Linked DNA regions of Homo sapiens: all the other regions are linked to region 1. Evidence: promoter capture Hi-C in 16 types of primary human blood cells and fetal thymus (Javierre and others, 2016). All regions are on one chromosome and are shown on one strand. Each heading gives the region's core, a stretch centred on a gene start or on the middle of the fragment in contact. The rest is flanking DNA. Distances are from core to core; before and after follow the strand shown.

Region 1 (2,894 bases), core at 18-2,517:
TTTTAGGATTCTGGCTCCCTGAGATCAGAGGAGTGGGTTCCCGTACGGGGGTGGCGAGGCACAGGGAGAAGCATTGGAGCAGACTCTGTGTGTGTGTGTGTGTGTGTGTGTGTGTGTGTGTGTGTGTCGGCGCGCCTGTGCGTGGAGGGGGATAACTGTACCCAGCGCGAGGCACTGGGGGAGGAGGAAGCGGTAGCAGAGATCTGAATAATTGATTCTTCAGCCGCACCAGACGCCCGGGAGCGGGCGGAGAGCGTGGTTCCAACACCACGGACAGCAGCGCGCGCCGCCGCAGGCGCCCCCGTCGCCAGCCAGCCACCTATCCTGGCCTTATTTGCCGCCGTGCGCTCTCGGAACGGGTGGCCGCGCTCCGCGTCGCCGCCGAGGGACTGCGGGGTCTGTCTCGACCCACCTAGGAGAGAGGCTGCGGGCAGGAGACGCTTTCGCCCGCCGGAGCTCGAAGCCTCTTGGGCTTGAGCGGGGGCTACTGCGTCTCGCCGGCTGAGAACAAGTCCCTAAGTTGGTGTGGAGGGCGCCGCTACCTTCCTTCTCCTCTTCCTCGGAGGCGACCGCAGCAGAAAGACGCCCCGGGAACCCGGCTTTGCCAGTGCTGTGAACCAGGGTGTCCAGGCGCTCACCGGACTCCCGCTGGGAAGTGGGGAGCCGAACGCCCGGCGCGGAGCTGGCCCAGCAGCGAAGGGCCCGGAGGGAGCTGCCTTTCCCCGCCCGCGCCTCTCTCGGCCGGGGACCGCGGGGATCCCCGGCCACACGCGAGCGCGCTCCCACACTCACACACACACTCGCCCTCAAACACACCAGCCCGGAGCTGGGTTGCGGAGAGGGTGCTCCGGCGCGCTCAGAGGACCGGGCAGTTGCCGTCCGGAGTGGGGCAGGAAGCGGAGCTAGGGATCTTGGAGGGGAGCTCCTAGGGCTTGGCCGGATCATGGGACCGGGTGAGCGCTGAGAATCGCGGCCGCAGCCATCAGCCCTGGAGATGACCAGGAGCGGCCACTGCTGAGAACTATGTGGAGAGAGGCTGCGGTGAGTGCTAGCGCGGGACGCCGGGCCTGGGAGGCCCCCTTGGGAAGGGGGGAGGTGGGAGGCCTGAAGAGGGAGGAAGCGGCAGGATCACAAGAGGGTCGCTGCGTGGGAAAGATCCACCTCCCTCGGGGAACCGGGACCGCGGGAGCCCGCGTCCTTCCCTCCCCCTCTCCTACTGCTGGCTCGTCACAAACTCAGCCAGCGCCCCCCCACCCTCGTTACCTCCTCTTTCTCTCCCTACCTCCCTCGCTCAGCAGCTCCCGGTCGCACAACTCCCAGCAGCCGGCGCTGGGGAGGTGGTAGGGGGTGCGGGTGGAGGTGCCCAGTTAGCTTCTCGTGGGTGGCCAACCTGGGGCTCCCATTCTCCTGTGCACCCTGGAGTGGAGCTCCCGCTATCAGCCACAGGGGCTGAGGATCCGCACTGGGGGCGTCGTGGGCATCGGGCTTCAGCTTCCCCCCTCTTGTCTAGCCCCCCTGGGCGCATAGGGGGGCTTGTGAGCACTGCAGACTGCAGCCTTCCCCTCAACCCTCCCTCCCCTCGTTGGTGGGCTGACCCTGCCTCTCCTTCTCTCCTCCGCCCCGTTAGAGCCCTGCTGCAGAGCCTCCGGCTGGGATAGCCGCCCCCCGTGGGGGCGATGCGGACAGCGCGGGACAGCCAGGGGAGCGCGCTGGGGCCGCAGCATGCGGGAACCCGCTAAACCCGGTGGCTGCTGAGGCGGCCGAGATGCTCGTGCGCGCAGCGCGCCCCACTGCATCCTCGACCTTCTCGGGCTACAGGTACGTCCCAGAGGGAGATCAGGGCTCCTTGGGCCGGGGAGGAGGGAGACTCGACCGGAGGGAGAGCGGGAGAGGGATCAGGCTAGAGAGGGAGAGGGAAAGCGGGAGGGAGCCCAGCGGCGAAGTGCAGGAGGGGCACCAGGGGGCGCTGCGGCTCCGCGCTCCGCGGCGCTTACCCAGGAACGTCGAGGCCTCTTGGAGTTCGCCTCAACTTCCCCCGGCTCCAGCAGCGTCCGTCCCGAGAGGCGCGCGTCAGGGCACGCGTGCACGACCGTGCTGGTATTTGCAGGTACGCAGGGCTGTGCACCTGCCGCAGTTCATGCGTGTGCACCACCTGAGGACATGTGAGGACTCCGGCTGGCCGTGGGCACCGCTACAGCAGTCTGAGGAAGTGCGCAGAAAAGCGCGCGTGCCTATGAGCGTGTGCGGCCCACTGCCCACGTGCACCTAGGACTTGGCAACAGCGCCCGCAGTAGAAAGGCTAGGGAGGGGCTGTACAGTCCACGTCCGTCTGGGAGCTTCTTGGGAGCCTACCTTTCCCCCTACGCACGTTCTTTGCCAGCTCCTACGCGCTGGCCCGCGGGGGGACGCGCCTACTCTCCAGAATTCAGCATTGCACACGGCGCGCGTGAGAGAGGGTGTGTGTGTGTGAACATGTGTGTGTGCGTGTGTGTGTGCACGTGTGTGTGCACGCGCGCGTGTAGGGGTGAAGGACTCTCCACGGCCCCTTGGCTCGAGGTGGGGCGAGCCCCAAGTTCCCCAGGCACAGCGGAGCCTGGGCCCACCAGGCAGCGTCCTCACTCCCAAGCACTTGGGGTGTACTCTGACTGAGAGGAGCCGGGTCTGTAGTTGGGGCTGGGCGTAGAGCAAAGTGTGTGGTGCACACGACGGGCTCGTAGGGGGCGGGGTCAGCCAACTAGCTGAGCTCTCAAGCTGGGACGCGGGGTCTGGGTGCCGCCTCCGCACGCCCTGCGGGGTCTGTAGTTCGCTCCGCGCCAGCAGGGGGCGGGGTTGATAACTTGGTCCTCTCTATCCCAGGTGGGAGGGGTTGGATGGAGGGTTTATTCTGTGCACCT
Region 2 (3,144 bases), core at 465-2,964, 940 kb after region 1:
CGAATTGTCTGAAGGCCTTAAGAGCAAAAATTGGGCTGGGCACGGTGGCTCATGCCTGTAATCCAACCACTTTGGATGGCCTAAACAAGAGAATGGCTTGAGGCCAGGAGTTCAAGACCAGCCTGGGCAACATAGTGAGACCCAGTCTCTACAAAAAAAAAAAAAAAAAAAGCAAAACTGAAGTTTCCCCAAGAAAAATAAACACTGCAACACAGGGCCGGGCACGCTGGCTCATGCCTCTAATCCCAGCACTTTGGGAGGCCAAAGCGGGTGCATCACTTGAGGCCAGGAGTTCAAGACCAGCCTGGGCAACATGACAAAACCCCGTCTCTACAAAAAATACAAAAATTAGCTGGGCGTGGTGGGGGGCACCTCTAATCCAAGCTACTCAGAAGGGTGAGGCAGGAGAATCACTCTAATCCAGGAGGCAGAGGTTGCAGTGAACTGAGATCATGCCACTGAACTCCAGCCTGGGTGACAGGGCAAAACTCCATCTCAAAAGAAAAGAAAAGAGGAAAGGAAAAGAGAAGGAGAAGGAGAGGAGGAAGGAGCAACATAGATAAACTGCCTGCATTTCCAGCCCGCCTGACTTGTGCCATGAATTTCAGATTCAAGACTGCAACATCAACTCTTACCTGAACTTCTAGCCTGTCAGCCTGCCTTACAGACTTCAGACTTTCCAACCCCTACAATCATATGAGCCAATGCCTTAAAATACACACGTGTGCACGCACACACACACACACACATACACCCCACTACTGGTTCTGTTTCTCTGTAGAACTTCAGTTAATACAGCAAATAAAGCAGACAGAGCCCCTGGGGATGGAGACCATGGAGGAATTCAAGAATGACGCCCCTACTATGCTCAAGGAGCTTTTGTATGTGTTATCAAATCCTCACCCACCATCCATAAAGACAGTTTTGCCATTTCTCCAGGATTCAGAGAGCTTAAGTGACTCGCCCAGGGTCACCTAACTGAAAATCAAACCCATAACTGTCTGCCTCCAACATCCACACTCTTTCATGCACCAACTACAGTGCCCTCAGAAACATGGTATCAGAGAGTCCAGGAGCATCACTTTTTTCCAGAATGCCAAAAGGAGCTCTTTCTCAAGTCCTTCCGTGAAAAGTCATCAAGGTCAAAAACCAACATGCATTTCTTCTAGATGCAAAGAATGGAAAACCCAACTCAAGCTCCCTTGGGTAACAAAGGGCACTTTTCCACTCCCATGTGTGGGAGGCCCAGCGGCAGATCTTAACACCTGAGCTGAGAACAGAGGTGCCAAGAGCATCATGAGAGTTTGATTTCTGTTGCCATCCCTCCTCTGGATGATAACCATCCCAAGCTCCTCATTGTGGCCTTGGAAGCCTGCAGCTTTCATCACTGGAACTGCCAGCAGTTTCTCTGGAAAGAGAAATCCTCCCTGAGAGTTTAAAGACTTGGAATTAAGAATTGTGGGCCTGGTTTAGCTCTCTTCTCTCTTGCCAGAACTAACTGAGATGCAACCCAACAAAGGCCATACTGTTCCTGGACCAAACCGAGGGTCAGGCTGCTTACTCTCACCGCCCAATAACCAGATACAGATGAACTGGGGAGGAAGACAGTTTTTATTTCTGTAACCAGGTACAGGGAGAAGGCCTGGAAAATAACACCAGACCAACTCAAAATTACAAAGTTTTCCAGAGCTCATATACCTTCTAAGCTATATGTCTACGTGTAAGCGTGCATTCATCTGAAGACATAAGTGATTAACTTCTCATCTGTAACTAAGAGCTAAGTCCTGAAGAACTTCCTCTGGAGTCTCATTAAATTTACTTAATCTAAATGGGTCCAGGTGCTGGGGAGATTACCCTTATCTTGTCTTCTGCTAAATCATGAAGGTTTGGGGAGTCCCTTCAGAACCCCAATAAACTTGTTTGTCGAAGCCTGGGGAGTTTCTTCAGACCTCCCAATAAACTTGTTTAATCCCAAATGGGTCCTGTTAAGAATTCCTTCGTTATCTTGTCATGTTTCAAGGCCCAGGAAAGGCCTAGGCAAAACTCTTGGGGGGCTTTTGTTACATTCCAGCCTTTGTATAAGGGCACTGGCCCTCTCAGCTCTTAATATTTAACTTCACCACTCAGTCAGTGCTGAAACAGTTGTTATGGAGGCCTACCAGTTCAGCTGTTAGGGAGACCTGGCTTGCCACAATACTATGTGACTTCAAATCCCTGCTCCATCACTCACCTGCTGGTGACTCTGGACAGTAACCTTAACCCTTCCTCCATTGTTCCATCTATAAAATAGATGTAAGAATTAGATTTCCCTCAAAGGATTGGGATGAGGATTAAACGGATTAATATGCATTTATGGGCCGGGCGCGGTGGCTCACTCCTGTAACCCCAGCACTTTGGGAGGCCGACGCAGGCGGATCACCTGAGGTCAGGAGTTCGAGACCAGCCTGACCAACATCATGAAACCCCATCTCTACTAAAAATACAAAAATTAGCTGGGCGTGGTGATGTGTGCCTGTAGTCCCAGCTACTCAGGAGGCTGAGGCCAGAGAATCGCTTGAACCCAGGAGGCAGAGGTTGCAATGAACCAAGATCATGTCATTACACTCCAGCCTGGACAACAAGAGCAAAACTCCACCTCAAAAAGGAAAAAAATGCATCTATAAAGTGATTGCAATAGTGACTAGCACACAGTAGTAGTGGTACATGAAGGTGACTGTTAATTGAATTACCAGAAGTAGGAATTGACAGGTGCATGCCCTCGCCTGAAGCCTGGTTCTGCCCCACGTGAGTCACAAGAATTAAAAGAGGCAGAGGATGATTCCCCTACAGGAAATGGATGTACAGTTAGCAAAGAAAGGAGAATTCGGAGCAGAAAGGCCAGCACAGCTGCTGTCTGATAAAGTGACCTCCATGAAATGCCACAATACCGGATTATTTTCTTTCCTATTAGAGACAAACCTAAGGTTGAAGCTGCCTTAAATTGAGATGATAAAAAATATCCTAATTATGTGCGAGAATAAAACAGAGCAGGTCATCCCGGCCTGCTGCTAGAGTTTCCTTTGTGTTTCTACCTACCAAAAATGAATCCAGGACAATCAGACATTTAAAGTCTACCTTTGGCCAGGCGAGGTGGCTCATGCCTGT
Region 3 (2,755 bases), core at 16-2,515, 920 kb after region 1:
GCTATAGAACATCAAAGACAAATAGGAAGTCTTAAACCAGCAGCAGATGGAAGAAACCAGCAACAACCCTCAGCACAGATGTAACAATTAGACCATCAACAACTGGACTTTTCTTAACGGTAGCGACAAGAGTCATCAAAATTCTCTCTTCATCGGGTTGAGAAAAAGAGAACTGTCAAGCTAGAATAGCAGATCTAACAAAACTGTATCTCAAGAATAAGAGCAAAATAAGGACATTTTCAGACTTATAAAAATAAAGCTTTAACCAATAGGCCAACTAAAATAATTTCTAAAGGATGTAGTTGAGAGAGAATGAAAATGAACCCAAATAAGAAGGCCTGAGATTCAAGAAGATTAGCAAAGGGGAAAAAGGATAAAACACGTAGGTTAATCTAAAGAACCACTGTATTCATAAAATATAGCTGTCTAACAAGTAGGCTTAATAAAAAGAACTGAAGTCCTCAGCAATGAGAATGTGTCAGTTAGGAAAGAAATGGCTAGGGTTAAAGTAGTCTGAGATCTTCATATCATCAGGCATGGTGGGAAGGTGATGGCAGTCAAGATACCAACATTACAGCCTGGGCAACACAGTGAGGCCCTGTCTCCAGAAAATAAAAATAAAAAATAAATTATCCGGTTGTGGAGGTGCATGCCTGTAATCCAAAATACTCATGAGGCCGAGGTAGGAGGCTGCCTAGAGCCCTGAAGTTTGAGGCTGCAGTGAACTATGATCATGCCATGGCACTCCAGCCTGAGGGACAGCCTCTAAAATTAAAAAAAAAAAAAAAGGATACTGCATTAAAAGTTAAACTGACATTAAAAGTAAAAGATACTAACATTAAAAGTCTCATGTGCCTAGTAAAATTTCAAAGATAATAATTTAAAGAGTAAAAGCAGAGATTATAACTTCCATCTCAGGAAAGAAAAAAAAAAGTAATAAGAAAAAAACTTAATTTTTATAGACCAAAAAAGATAAATTATATATATATATATATATATATATATATATATATATATATATATAAAAATGCTGTACCAATGAAACCTCAAAAAAGTTACAACAGGAGAAACAATCCAAATAGATCAATAATCACAATAAATGTAATGGAAATAACCATCTCAGTTAAAAGAGATTATCAAATTAGATGGGACGGGGCAGGGAATCCAGCTATCTACTGTTAAAAAAAAAAAAAAGCTAAAACGTAAAAATATAGGAAGGTTTTAATATAGCAAGTAAAGGAACAGACAAAGATATTAGGTTGGTGCAAACATAATTGCATTTTCACCAACCTAATACATCAGCCAAATACTAACAAAATAAAGGTGAGTGGCCATATTAATACCAAATAAAATGGCTTTTTAGTAAAAAATATATATTAGGGAGAGAGAGTCATTGCAACATAATAAAGCATTTGCTTCTCCATGAAGACATGATTCTAAGAACATTTGCATATAGTCAAATAACTTTACAATACATACTGCAGATGCTTCCTCAGACTTCTCTACAGAGGATCTCAGCTGGCCTCACACCCTAACAAGTGTGGAGAGAAATGACTGTGGGTGGCCAGGTCAGCTGTTGGATGAAGTGTCCCCAGCCCTGGTAAAAACGGCCAAGATATGATAACTTCTCCCCATCTTTCTAGAGATATGAGTCATTCTTCTTTGCATGAGGAATAAAGAGGTCAGAGCTGAAGCGTCTTTTCCATAATCCCTTGAGAAGGCAGAAGTGTTAGATTAAGCTCCTACTTTACAGGCTGGGGACAGGAACACTGAAAAGAATAAAGAAACAATTTGTAGCTGGGTGTGGTGGCACGCCTGTCGTCCCAGCTACTTGGAAGGCTGAGACTGGAGGATTGCTTGAGCCCAGGAGATCGAGGCTGCAGTGAGCTATGATCACACCACTACACTCCAGCCTGAGTGACACACCAAGACCCTGTCCCTAAAAAGAAAAAATAAAAGAGAGAAACAATTTGAATTGAAAAGGCAGAAACCTTGACTTTGTTGAATCTAATATTCCTCTGATTTTTTTTTCTTAACACAGATCTACAAAATTTTGGCAAACAGAGACCTGATCCAGCCCTCTCCTTTCAAAGATGAGAAAACAGAAAACACACAGAGAGGTGATGTGGCTTGCCCGAAGTCACACAAATAATGTATTTGCATGTACATATAATCATTAATATTCACACGAGGACCCAAAAAAGATTGTGAAAACAAGTGAATTTAAATGTTAAAATGGCAAATTCTCCCTCAATAAAGTAAAAAGCTTCTATCGAACAGCCCCACTAAATTAAAAAATGCACTTCAATAGGTCTGCTTTCCCTCCGCAAAGGGCTAGCAAACAAGAAAGGCATAGCATGCTGTGCACGGCATCGCAATGTCAGATAGCTGCTGACTCCAGTAATTCATCATTGAATTGAAAGCATTACATACGGGAAGAGCAAAAATCTAATTCCAGCTCATTTCAATAAGAATTGATCTAAGGGTTCATTACATAAAGTAATTTTTACTAACACAACTTTGAACGCGTCCTCCAACAAGGGTTAGAATCTCTCCCATGATAGCGGGAGCCGATCAGGGGAAATCTGCATGCAGATAAATGCTGCCTGCTAAGTTGCAGATTCCTTGCGTTCAATTTAACTAAGTTGTTTTTCTTTTTTAATGTTTGCTTAATATTGGAGAGGGCTGGGAAACTGGAGTTAGGGATTATTTTTAAAAGAGATCTAGGGGCCAGACGCAGTGACTCATGCCTGTA
Region 4 (2,756 bases), core at 148-2,647, 960 kb after region 1:
GCCTGGACAACAGAGCCAGACCCTGTCAGGAAGAAAGGAAGGGAAGGGAGGGGAGGGGAGGGAAGGAAGGAAAAGGGAAGGGAGGGAAGGAAGGAAGGGAAGGGAGGGAAGGAAGGAAGGGAAGGGAGGGAAGGAGGGAAGGAAGGAAGGAAGGAAGGAAGGAAGGAAAGAAGGAAGGAGAAGGGAAGGGAAGGAAGGAAGGAGAAGGGAAGGGAAGGAAGGAAGGAGAAGGGAAGGGAAGGAAGGAAGGAAGGAAAACGGAAAGGAAGGGAGAGGGAAGGAAGGGAAGGGAGGGAGGGAAGGAAGGAAGGAAGGAGGGAAGGAAGGAAAAGAAAGAAAGAAAAAAGAAAGAAAGAGAAAAGAAAAGAAAGAAAGAAAAGAAAGAAAGGGAAATAAAGAAGAAAGAAAAAGAAAAGAAAGAAAGCAGGCAAGGAAGGGGGCAAGGAGAGAGAAAAGAAAGAAAGAGAAAAAGAAATGAAAAGGAAAGGAAAGGAAAGAGAGAAGGAAGGAAGGAAAGAAAGAGAAAGGAAGGAAGGAAAGAAGAAGGAAGGAAGGACGGAAGGAAGGAAGGAAGGGAGGAAAAAAAGTATTCTCTCACAGTTCTGGACGCCAGAAGCCAGAAATCAATGTGTTCCCAGGGTTGGTTCCTTCTGCAAGCTCTAGGGGGAGCATGTGTCTCTCGCCTCTCTGCAGCTTCTGGGGATTGCCACAGTCCTGGGTGCTCCTTGACATGTAGGCCCCGCACTCTGATCCCTGCATCTATCATCACCCCATCATCACCTGGTGTTCTCCTCTGCATCTTCTAAACTTTTTATAAGGACACTAGTCATTGGATTTAGGGCCTACCCAGATAATCCAGGATGATCTCATCTTGAGATTCCTAATCTAACTACATCTGTAAAGCCCCTTTCTCCAAATAAAGTCCCATCCACTGGTTCTGGGTGGACATATCTTTTCGGAAGACTAACATTTAGCACACGACAGATATTCGACACAGTTACCCCAGGCAGGGACTGCTCTATTCTGCATGCTGTGTAATAGCTAACGTTTACTAGGCGTTTGCTTTGTGCCAGACAGTATGCAAACTGATTTCCACCCATTAGTTCATTTGTCCTACTCACAATTTCCTCCATCTCAGCATGTGAAAGTGTGGCTGTCCCTTCCCCAGGCCCTCAGTGCCTGCAGAACAATGATACGTGAATGAAACCTTCCTCCATTGCCATCCATTCTCCTTTGATCATTTATAATTTCATCACTTTAAAGGATAGAAGTAATAGCCCTGCTTCAAAAGAGGCAATCCTTTTATCTTCTCTGAAGCTTTCATTTGGCATCAGCGAGGGACAAGATTGCAGAACCTAACTATGATTTGTTTCTTTAAAGTTATTTTAACAATGCTAGGTGTGGCATTTGCCTGTTTGGGGGCGGGCGGAATACAAACAAGTAAAAAAAACCAAACAGACAAACTTTTCCAAGCTTGGGGATTTTCAACAATACTTGATGCCAAGTAGAAGTAATAGTAATTAAAGAATAATGACAGCAGCAATCACAACTAGCATTCATTTATTGAGCATTTACTATGTGCCAGGTACTCTTATAAGTACTTTACATGCACACTCATTTCAAGCCCTCAACAACCCCATATGGTAGGTACTAAAATTATTCCCATTTTACAGATGAGGAAGCTGAGGCTTACTGAGGATAAGGCACTTGCCTTGAGTTACAGAGCTAGTAACCGGTAGAACTGAGATTTAAACCCAGGAAGTCTGACAAGAACATTGCATTCTAGTTGGCATGTATTCTAGCATGTGATGGAAATAATGTTCAAAATCCTAAGGAAATTGAACACTCAAAGGATTTTCAGTAAAGTAATTTTACTTTTGTTTAGATGGGTGCTTCACCTTGGCCAGTCACCATGAGAGCACAACTGAACAAAGGGGAACGAGAGCCATTATTCCTGACGCAAGTCCTGCCTGTGTGCCCTTTCCCCATTGGCTGGAGTCGGGCCGCACAATCTAAACTAGTTCTGGTTGGCTAAACATTTGAACTTTCTTTAGATAAGATGGGCACGTAAGAGAGAGGGGAAAGGGGAAGGGGTGTCTGTAATGAGCTAGAGAGCTAGTCTTTTTTTCAAATAAGGAAAGGAATGTGAGTTGGTATTGATAACACCTGGTACTGTAGCATGTCTGGGCACATAACAAAGGCAGAAACGAAGAAAGAGGAGAAAAGGGAAAGGGCGGGGGGCGGTACTAGAATTAAAGAATAAAGGATTGACCAGACTCTTTGAAGAGAAACCTCATTATATCCCACAGTTTTCCCCTTCTTTTTTTTATAATTCAGTTCCTTTGGTTGTAGGACTGAGGTTCCCATATCCTTGCAGTCTGTATCTCCTAGGGTACTTTCTCAAGTCCTTGCCTATGAGCCTCTCCATCTCAGGGCCAACACATCAAATCCTTCTCATGCTTAGAATCATTCTGATTTCACCTTCTGCTGCATGGAGCTAAATAAGACACAGCCAGTGCCCTGTAGGAGCCTATAGCCCAGAGGGCAAGACAGGCAGGTTAAGGAGCACTTACAATTAGCAGGGATTATGGCCTATCATAGAGTGGATGGGGGAGGTGCACAGAGAGTCTATAGGATAGAGAAGCCAGACAGGCTCCCTGCAGATGCTGACACCAGAGGTGAGACTGGATAACCAAGAAGAGTTAGGCAGACACCAGTGCTGGCTTTCAGGCTGGACAATCTACGCAGGGGTACCA
Region 5 (2,766 bases), core at 252-2,751, 980 kb after region 1:
CAGTTAGACAGGAGGAATGAGCTTTTGACATCTGTTGCACAAAAGTTTAAGTATGTGAAGAGACGGCTATGTCTATTAGCTTGACTTAATCATTCCACAATGTATACATATATCAAAACATCACACTGTTCCTCCAAAATATCTACAATTATTATTTCTCCATTTTTTATTTATTATGTTTTGAGATGAAGTCTCACTCTGTCACCCAGGTTGGAGTGCACTGGCGCGATCTCAGCTTACTACAACCCCCACCTCCCAGGTTCAGGCGATTCTCCTGCCTTGGCCCACCGAGTAGCTAGGATTACAGGCACCTGCCACCACATGTGACTAATTTTTGTATTTTTAATAGAGACGAGGTTTTACCATGTTGGCCAGGCTGGTCTCAAAGTCCTGACCTCAGGTGATCCACCCTCCTCAGCCTCCCGAAGTGCTGAGATTACAGGTGGGAGCCACGGCACCCAGGCTATTTGTACATTTTTTTAAAATTGTGTTTAAAGGAAAGGAAAGAAAGTCATAGTATTCCTAGGGAGAACTTCCTAAATAGGCAGAGGAATTCAAATAAGAGGGGAAGGTCTACCTGCAGATAGTGGATCATTCAAACTGATACAGCTTTAAGATAATTGTCAAATCCCTGGAGGAAACAGGGATTTTACTCCAGGGATTTGTTTTACTCCAGTAAAACAGGGAGGGGGTGTTGGGAAGGGAGAAGATTCCTAAGAGTTTGTCTTCCCAGATCACACCAGTATTTTCCAAAGTGTAGAAAATGTGCTCGTGGCATATAAAATTATTCGAGTTGAACACAGCATTGCAAAACATCTCATCACACAGTCAAACGGTCACTCTCTGTCTATTGGTTTTCAACCCTCCCAATTAATGCAAAGAGAAAGTCTCCCTGGATGAGTTTGTCTTTAAGAACTGGAACCCTTCCTAATCCTTTTTAACTTACAGAGCCCTTGCCTCTGGCTAAGAGTCTTCCCCAGCAAATGTACCCAAGTGGAATGGAATACCATTGTCTCCTTTGTCACTGTCTTCACTTTGCTGTTTTTACATGTAAGCTTTTATTTTTCAATTGGCAATTCATTTTTTAACTTTTTAATATTTATATAATGGTTGAAAGGTTTGCAAATCTGTCTTTAATTCCATTCTAGTTGTTTGCCTTTTTTTTTTGAGACGGAGTCTCACACTCTCTCCCAGGCTGGAATGCAGTGGTGCGATCTCAGCTCACTGCAACCTCCGCTTCCCAGGTTCAAACTATTCTCCTGCCTCAGCCTCCCTAGTAGCTGGGATTACAGGTGCCCGCCACCACAACCAGCTAATTTTTTGTATTTTTTTAGTAGAGACAGGGTTTCACTATGTTGGCCAGGCTGGTCCCAAATACCTGACCTCATGATCCACCCGCCTCGGCCTCCAAAGTGCTGGGATTAAAAGTATGAGCCATCATGCCCAGAATGTTTGCCCATTTTTACATATATTTTACAATTGGAAGAAAGGAAAGAAAGAGGAAAAGAAGGAAGAAGGAGGAAGGAAGGAAGGAGAAGGGGAAGGGGAAGGGAAGGGAAAGGGAGGGAGGGAAGGAAGGAGAGAAGGAAGGAAAATGAAGGAAGGAGGGAGGGAGGGAAGGAAGGAAGGAAGGAAGGAAGGAAGGAAGGAAGGAAGGAAGGAAGGACTTATGTAGAAAAAAACCTAAGGGATGTAAACCATCCAACGCTTTTTTAAAAACACTGTATTGATTTTTATGCTTAGCGTTAGCATTTATTTCCTCTTTATGACATTGGGTTTCCATTTATAGTAGTGACAAAGTTTCCTGTTTAAAATAGTCTATTAATTTAATTTTAAAATGAGTTGGCTTTATATCAAGTAAAAAAACAGAACATGGATATAGATACAGCAGAAATCACACAGGTGGTAAGCGAATGACTCAAGTTTGGGTAACACTGGGAAGCTTGATTCTTTTTTTAATATTTGGCTTCCTGAAGTTTAACTCTTGGAAATGTGAGGCACATCCGCTCCTGGGGCAGAGGCAGGAAGGCTCAAAGGCGGCGCCGGTGGGAGGGAGCAGAGGGTGTCAGGATGTGCTCTCCCAGACATCCCAGGAAGTTCCCAGCATCTTGGATCCAGCTGCTGGCTTGTCAAGGTCCTTGCTCTGGGTTAATAAGCTGGGAACAGACGGAGAGCTAGTGTATAGATCGAGATGGCGGATTTTCAAGGAGGCAATTTAATGAGCAGTGGTTTGAATTGAGACCAATTTTAATGTCTTTTCTGTTTTCCACCAACTGTCACAGAAATTGCCACAAATGATGTCTTAATTCTGTTCCCTAGCGGGTCTCTGATATGGCAAAGGATGAATTTTAAATTGTTTGATCAGAATTAGCAACATTAGTCACTGCCAATAGCCTTTTAATTTCCACAGAGCTGCCAAGGGGAGCAAAAATAGAATTGTGAGGAGAGTTCCAGCAGGCAGATGTGCTCCTGGCAGAAGAGGCCTCGTGGTCTGCTGGAGGTGTCTTCAGGTGCTCTGGGGTTGGTGGAGCAAGGCCAGGGAGGTGGTCGGGGGGCAAGCGGTTTTAGCCCCAGCTTTCCACTTCCTCTGGGTGGCAAGGGTTTGCTGTCCCAAGAAACTGTGGATCCCGGCCGGGCACGGTAGCTCACACCTGTAATCCCAGCACTTTGGGAGGCCGAGGCAGGTGGATCACCTGAGGTCAGGAGTTCGAGACCAGCCTGGCCAACACAGTGAAACCCAGTCTCTACTAAAAATACAAAAATTAG
Region 6 (2,902 bases), core at 237-2,736, 560 kb after region 1:
TGAATTTCCTAGAATCCCCTTCCCTGGCTGCTCCCAGTTGGGCCTCAGGAGAGACCTGAAGGAAGAGCTGGAGCATGGGCCGTCATGCGGCTCACACATGTTGTTGATCTGTTGACTTGTCCTGGCAAGTGGCAGCAGCTGGACTTGCAACAGTTCCTTCCCCTGAATCCTCTTTCATTGCCTTTGGCTCTTGGGTCAGGTGCCTATGTTTGCCTAAGGGCCCCTGGCTTTTGCAGGACACTCATATCATTAATATCAGGGACCAAAACAAACAAACAAAAAACAAAAACCCTAATGCAAGTCTCCATCTGTCCTCCGTCTGGAGTGTGGCTCCACTCACAGCTTTGGGTTCCAGCTTGTTTTTTATTTCCTCTACTTTACACCCATCTTCCCTTTCTTATTTCTTCTGCTATGAACTTCAGGTTCCAACATAAAGTGCCTAGCTCCCGACTGATCCCCGACTGGTGCACTTCTGCATCCTTTCCTCCTCCTGTCTTATCTATCTTCCAATATATGATATGGTTTGGATTTGTGTCCCTACCCAAATCTCACGTCAAATCTCATGTCAAATTGGCGGAGGGGCTTGGAGGGAGGTGATGGGAGGGGCAGATTTTCCCCTTGCTGTTCTCATGATAGTGAGTGAGTTCTCACGACATTTGATGGTTTAAAAGTGTGGCACTTCCCCTGTCTCTTTCTCCTTCCACCATGTGAAGAAGGTCCTTGTTCCCCTTTGCCTCCCATGGTTGTAAGTTTCCTGAGGCCTCCCAGTCATGTTTTCTGTTAAGCCTGCAGAACTGTGAGTCAATTAAGCCTCTTTTCTTCATAAATTACCCAGTCTCAGGTAGTTCTTTACAGCAGTGTGAAAATGGACTAACACACATCCCTATGCTCAGAATCTCATTATCTCCCACCTGCATCCACTAGTAACCCTTTCTTCTTTCCCTTAAGCTTCTCTCTCTCTCTCTTTTTTGGTCCATTGTATCATTTTAAAAGCAAGGTTCAAGTCTCTCCCATCTTAAAACAGGAATACCAAAATAAACAAAACAAGTAAGCAAACAAAAATAAAATGTCAAATTCCCTGAACATCTCATTTGTCTCTTCTCTTATTGCCCGATGGTAGCCTGTAGCAATCTCAGGGTCTGTAATTTCCCACACCTGTTCACTCACCTACTTCTGATAATCTGGCTTCTGCTCCATTACTTCTGTGAAATTCCGTCATTTTCTATAGTTCAGGGATCCTCCCCCCAGAAAAACTCTTCTGGTCCTGTTGTGACCTTAAACAGAGAAAATTAAATCTAATTCTAAATAACTTGGCTTGTTACTATATTTGTGAAGTCAAGAACTTCCATCCGGGAAAGCAATGTGATGTCTTGGGCTAGTCTCAGAGGAACTATTTTGACCCAAGCTTGTACTGATCATGGAAATCCAGGTTATATCAAGAAGGTAGGCTTGGATAACTGTATTTCATACAGTCCTAGAATGTTGAAGTCATTAAGACATTAAACATAAAATATTGCACCACAATGAGGTGACCGCAGAAATTGAGAGCCAGTGCTTAAAAGCTTTTATGGCAATTTCGCAAAATAATTTTGAGTCTAATAAATCTAAAAAAAGGACTTGTCTTGATTTCATTTTTCTAGTAATTCACTGTTTTGTAAATTTTTTTGCAAGTATTGGTCTGTGAAGTATTAGAGGAAAATGCTCCTTTTCCAAAGATAGCTTAAGAAACACTGTTTTAGGATACATTTGTTTGGTGCTCAGAATCTCCATGGGTCACTCAATTTTTCTTCTTTCCTGGTCCAACACCTGCATCGCTGACTTTAAAGATCTTACATTTTCTAGCTTTTTCAACCTGAGGGGATTCTAGATTCCTGCAGAGAAATAAGAGGTTAGAGACAAGAAGGACCCATATGAAGATGTCCTGAAGCAATTAGCTCCATGAATGGGAGGAACAAAAAGAAGGTGTACTGAGATACTTGGGCAGTTAAATGCTTCTGCCTTAAGTCAGCTGCTAATCCCCTAGGGAAGATGGAGTCTGAGAGAAAGTTATAAATTGTCTCTCTCTGTCTCTCTCTCTCTCTCTTTTTTTTTTTTTTTTTTTTTTTTTGCTATCTGTAACTAAACTTGAGATTTGTTAACATTCCCCACTGACAGCCTCCTTGTTATTTCCATGATCAATACAAGCTTGGGTCAAAATAGTTCCTCTGAGACTAGCCCAGGATATCACATTGCCTTCCCCAATGGAAGTTCTTGACTTCACAAATATAGTAATGAGTCAAGTTATTTAGAATTAGATTTAATTTTCCTTGTTATGAAATATAATGGAAAACCACATATTGCATAATTTCATTCATATGAATTTTCCAGAATAGGTGAATTTGTAGAGACAGAAAGCAGATGAGTGGTTGGAAGGGCCTAGGGAGAGAGGAGAATTAGGAGTAACTGCTTAATGGGTACAGAATTCTGCTTAGGGTGATAAAAATGTTCTGGAACACGATAGTGGTGAGGGTTGCACAACATCATGAATATACTTAATGCCACTGAATTGTACTCTTTAAAATGGCTAAAATGATAAATGTCTTGCTATGTGTATTTTACCACAATAAAAAGAAAATCTAATACAACTTTTCAATCTCTATTGTACTTAACTTCTTAGGGCAATTATACTCAATCACTCATTCCTTCTTTGACATCTTCTCTTCTCAAGGCTTTCAGGACCCTGTAGGTGCCCATCATTTTAATATCCTTTCCAAAGCTCCGCTGACTTTCTGATTCATCTCCCTAGCCCTTAATGTTGGTTTTCCTTGGGAAATAGTTCTATTCTTCTTATTGTTATTACACTGAGCACATTCTTTCGGATCTCTCACCCAATCCCGTGGCTTATTTTCTATTTCCATATGCA
Region 7 (2,955 bases), core at 191-2,690, 890 kb after region 1:
AAAAAAAAAAAAAAAAGAATCTGTGACCAGACAACTCTTTACATTCTTGTTGGCCATCCCAAGATTAATCAATCATACCAATAATCGAAATTACAGAAAATCTATCCAACACAGTGGCCATTTCCAGAAATTAGATTGTTCCTCATTAGCGGGGGATTTTCTTTTTCTCTATATTATTTCCCACTAATATTAAAAAAATATTTTTACTGGATTTTTTCCATCATTTTCCCAGCATGGACCTAATAGCAACCAAGAAGTACTTTAAAAATTCCATTATCTTTATCGAATGGAAATTCTCACAATATCACAATTGCCAAAGGTCTCTTTTATTCTGGTGTTAACCTTGGGAAGATTTTAGATGTCCTTTGGGGCATGCACAGAGGACCGAGGAAATCTTTCTTTTCTACATCCTTGGAGAGCTCAGCACACTTGACTAAGTATGAAACTGTTCACTCCTGATTTGTTTCTCTGGTTGAATATTGATTTGACTTCTGTTGTATATCACAAATGCACACCAATCTCCAGAATCGTGGGGCACTGAGGGTTTCTGTTTAATATTCAACTTGGAGCCACTCAAGCACTCACACAATTTTTTTTTTAGTTGCTCCACCTGTTGTCCTCCCAGATGGATGAGGTAAGAATGTCGTGTATAAAACAAAGTAATTGCTGTGGCTGTTAAACAATTCAGGACCACTTCCCCTGAGCTCTGCTGGGGATTTACAAAGTCCCACAGATGCCAAGCTTGAAGAAGCTTAAAAGGGGAGCTGCTCATTTGGAACTGAGTAAATCCAGTGATCTCTCTGGTTATGTAGCAAACCTGTCTAAGTCTGCGTGTCCGATATATTTGCGCTTTTGTACTGGCTAAGTCCATACTTGGGCACATCTGGCATTCCCCCTATTTATGAGACTGACACCTATGCTGCATGTTGGAGGGGAAATATATGGTTCTGAGCAGTATTTCTGGTGCCTGGACACTTGAAGTTACTTGATCTAAATGCAAGTCTTTAAGTGAGAGAATCATCAGGGGAATTCTATTTTTAAAATCCCAAAGTGTTTAAAAATAAAATAAGATTCTTAAGGACAAATCAGTTTGTTTTGGGGGTGGAGGGAATCATCTGGATATTTGCTTTTCCCCTCATTTTTTTTTTTATTTATTTTTTATTATTTTTTTTTAGAGACAGGATCTGGCTCTGTCACCCAGACTGCAGTGCAGTAACACAATCATAGCTCACTTGCAGCTTCAAACTTCCAGGCTCAAGTGATTCTCCTGAGTAGCTAGGACTACAGACACATGCCACCATACCTAGTTAATTTTTTTTTAATTATTTCCTGTAGACCAGGCACAGTGGCTCACACCTGTAATCCCAGCACTTTGGGAGGCTGAGGCGGGTGGATCATTAGAGGTCAGGAGTTCGACACCAGCCTGGCCAACATGGTGAGACCCCGTTTCTACTAAAACTAGAAAAGTCAGCTGGGTATGGTGGCACACGCATGTAATCCCAGCTACTCAGGAGGCTGAGGCAGGAGAATCTCTTGAACCCAAGAGACAGAGGATGCAGTGAGCCGAGAATGCACCACTGCACTCCAGCCTGGGCAACAGAGTGAGACTCTGTCTCAAAAAAAAAATTTATTTATTTATTTATTGTAGAGACAATGTCTCACCATGTTGCCCAGGCTGGTCTCAAACTCCTAGCCTCAAGCGATCCTTCCACCTCAGCCTGGCAAATTTCTTGGTTACAGGTATGCGCCATCATGCCCAACCCTCTCCTTTCTGCTAATCCTCCATCATTTGTGATGATGGTTGGTTGGTTAGGTGTTGGGAGAGATTTAAGAAAGATGTCTCAATCAGCAGAAGGCATTGCCTATCCCCCTGGTGCTACTGGGTGGCATTGAGAGGACAGTAAGTTTCCTAAGATTCTGCAAACCAGATGGAATTCTTACCTTGTTACATCACCCAAGGGCCCCAAGGAGGCTTCAGCTATTGAGGTGGATGCAAAGAATCCCAGTGCCAGTAGCAGCCTTCACTGCTGTGTGCATTTGTAAAGTGGAACAAACCAGATGTTGATGGTACACAAGACTGCACAGGCAAGAAGCGGGCAATAAGACAGGTGTCAGGTGGATAAGCTTTTTGATGTGCTGCTGAATTCGGTTTGCCAGTATTTTATTGAGGATTTTTGCATCAATGTTCATCAAGGATATTGGTCTAAAATTCTCTTTTTTGGTTGTGTCTCTGCCCGGCTTTGGTATCAGAATGATGCTGGCCTCATAAAATGAGTTAGGGAAGATTCCCTCTTTTTCTATTGATTGGAATAGTTTCAGAAGGAATGGTACCAGTTCCTCCTTGTACCTCTGGTAGAATTCGGCTGTGAATCCATCTGGTCCTGGACTCTTTTTGGTTGGTAAGCTATTGATTATTGCCACAATTTCAGCTCCTGTTATTGGTCTATTCAGAGATTCAACTTCTTCCTGGTTTAGTCTTGGGAGAGTGTATGTGTCAAGGAATTCATCCATTTCTTCTAGATTTTCTAGTTTATTTGCGTAGAGGTGTTTGTAGTATTCTCTGATGGTAGTTTGTATTTCTGTGGGATCGGTGCTGATATCCCCTTTATCATTTTTTACTGCATCTATTTGATTCTTCTCTCTTTTTTTCTTTATTAGTCTTGCTAGCGGTCTATCAATTTTGTTGATCCTTTCAAAAAACCACCTCCTGGATTCATTAATTTTTTTGAAGGGTTTTTTGTGTCTCTATTTCCTTCAGTTCTGCTTCAAGTGGGCTTCATCCCTGGGATGCAAGGCTGGTTCAATACACGCAAATCAATAAATGTAATCCAGCATATAAACAGAACCAAAGACAAAAACCACATGATTATCTCAATAGATGCAGAAAAGGCCTTTGACAAAATTCAACAACCCTTCATGCTAAAAACTCTCAATACATTAGGTATTGGTGGGACG

What was found. The method cuts DNA at HindIII sites, captures the fragments that hold promoters and counts their contacts. A CHiCAGO score of 5 or more calls a contact.
Region 2: a fragment that was not itself captured here is called in contact with the fragment with the promoter of GRIN2A in region 1 in 1 of 17 cell types (M0 macrophages); the score reaches 5.8 in M0 macrophages.
Region 3: a fragment that was not itself captured here is called in contact with the fragment with the promoter of GRIN2A in region 1 in 5 of 17 cell types (endothelial precursors, M2 macrophages, M0 macrophages and 2 more); the score reaches 10.8 in endothelial precursors.
Region 4: a fragment that was not itself captured here is called in contact with the fragment with the promoter of GRIN2A in region 1 in 4 of 17 cell types (M1 macrophages, M2 macrophages, endothelial precursors and 1 more); the score reaches 11.9 in M1 macrophages.
Region 5: a contact is called between a fragment that was not itself captured here and the fragment with the promoter of GRIN2A in region 1, in 1 of 17 cell types (endothelial precursors). The highest score is 5.5, in endothelial precursors.
Region 6: a contact is called between a fragment that was not itself captured here and the fragment with the promoter of GRIN2A in region 1, in 1 of 17 cell types (endothelial precursors). The highest score is 5.6, in endothelial precursors.
Region 7: a fragment that was not itself captured here is called in contact with the fragment with the promoter of GRIN2A in region 1 in 4 of 17 cell types (endothelial precursors, M2 macrophages, erythroblasts and 1 more); the score reaches 8.7 in endothelial precursors.

Annotation. Positions count from the first base shown.
Region 1 is chr16:10,180,801-10,183,694 of GRCh38, reverse strand. GRIN2A (glutamate ionotropic receptor NMDA type subunit 2A) reads left to right here and starts at 1,267. Exons shown (of 13, transcript NM_001134407.3): 1 at 1,267-1,818. RefSeq lists silencers at 2,000-2,059, 2,070-2,179. The HindIII fragment of the contact is 14,826 bases long and covers 1-2,894 here.
Region 2 is chr16:9,243,211-9,246,354 of GRCh38, reverse strand. No RefSeq gene overlaps it. Among named protein-coding and RNA genes, the nearest start is that of LINC02177, 110 kb to the left of the region's middle. The HindIII fragment of the contact is 3,560 bases long and covers 1-3,144 here.
Region 3 is chr16:9,263,189-9,265,943 of GRCh38, reverse strand. No RefSeq gene overlaps it. Among named protein-coding and RNA genes, the nearest start is that of LINC02177, 91 kb to the left of the region's middle. The HindIII fragment of the contact is 2,007 bases long and covers 262-2,268 here.
Region 4 is chr16:9,223,620-9,226,375 of GRCh38, reverse strand. No RefSeq gene overlaps it. Among named protein-coding and RNA genes, the nearest start is that of LINC02177, 130 kb to the left of the region's middle. The HindIII fragment of the contact is 156 bases long and covers 1,320-1,475 here.
Region 5 is chr16:9,198,796-9,201,561 of GRCh38, reverse strand. No RefSeq gene overlaps it. Among named protein-coding and RNA genes, the nearest start is that of HAPSTR1, 110 kb to the right of the region's middle. The HindIII fragment of the contact is 887 bases long and covers 1,058-1,944 here.
Region 6 is chr16:9,617,021-9,619,922 of GRCh38, reverse strand. No RefSeq gene overlaps it. Among named protein-coding and RNA genes, the nearest start is that of LINC01195, 160 kb to the right of the region's middle. The HindIII fragment of the contact is 157 bases long and covers 1,408-1,564 here.
Region 7 is chr16:9,294,046-9,297,000 of GRCh38, reverse strand. It overlaps LOC105371075 (a long non-coding RNA gene), which reads right to left and starts at 2,189. Exons shown (of 2, transcript XR_933060.2): 1 at 1,942-2,189. The HindIII fragment of the contact is 1,373 bases long and covers 754-2,126 here.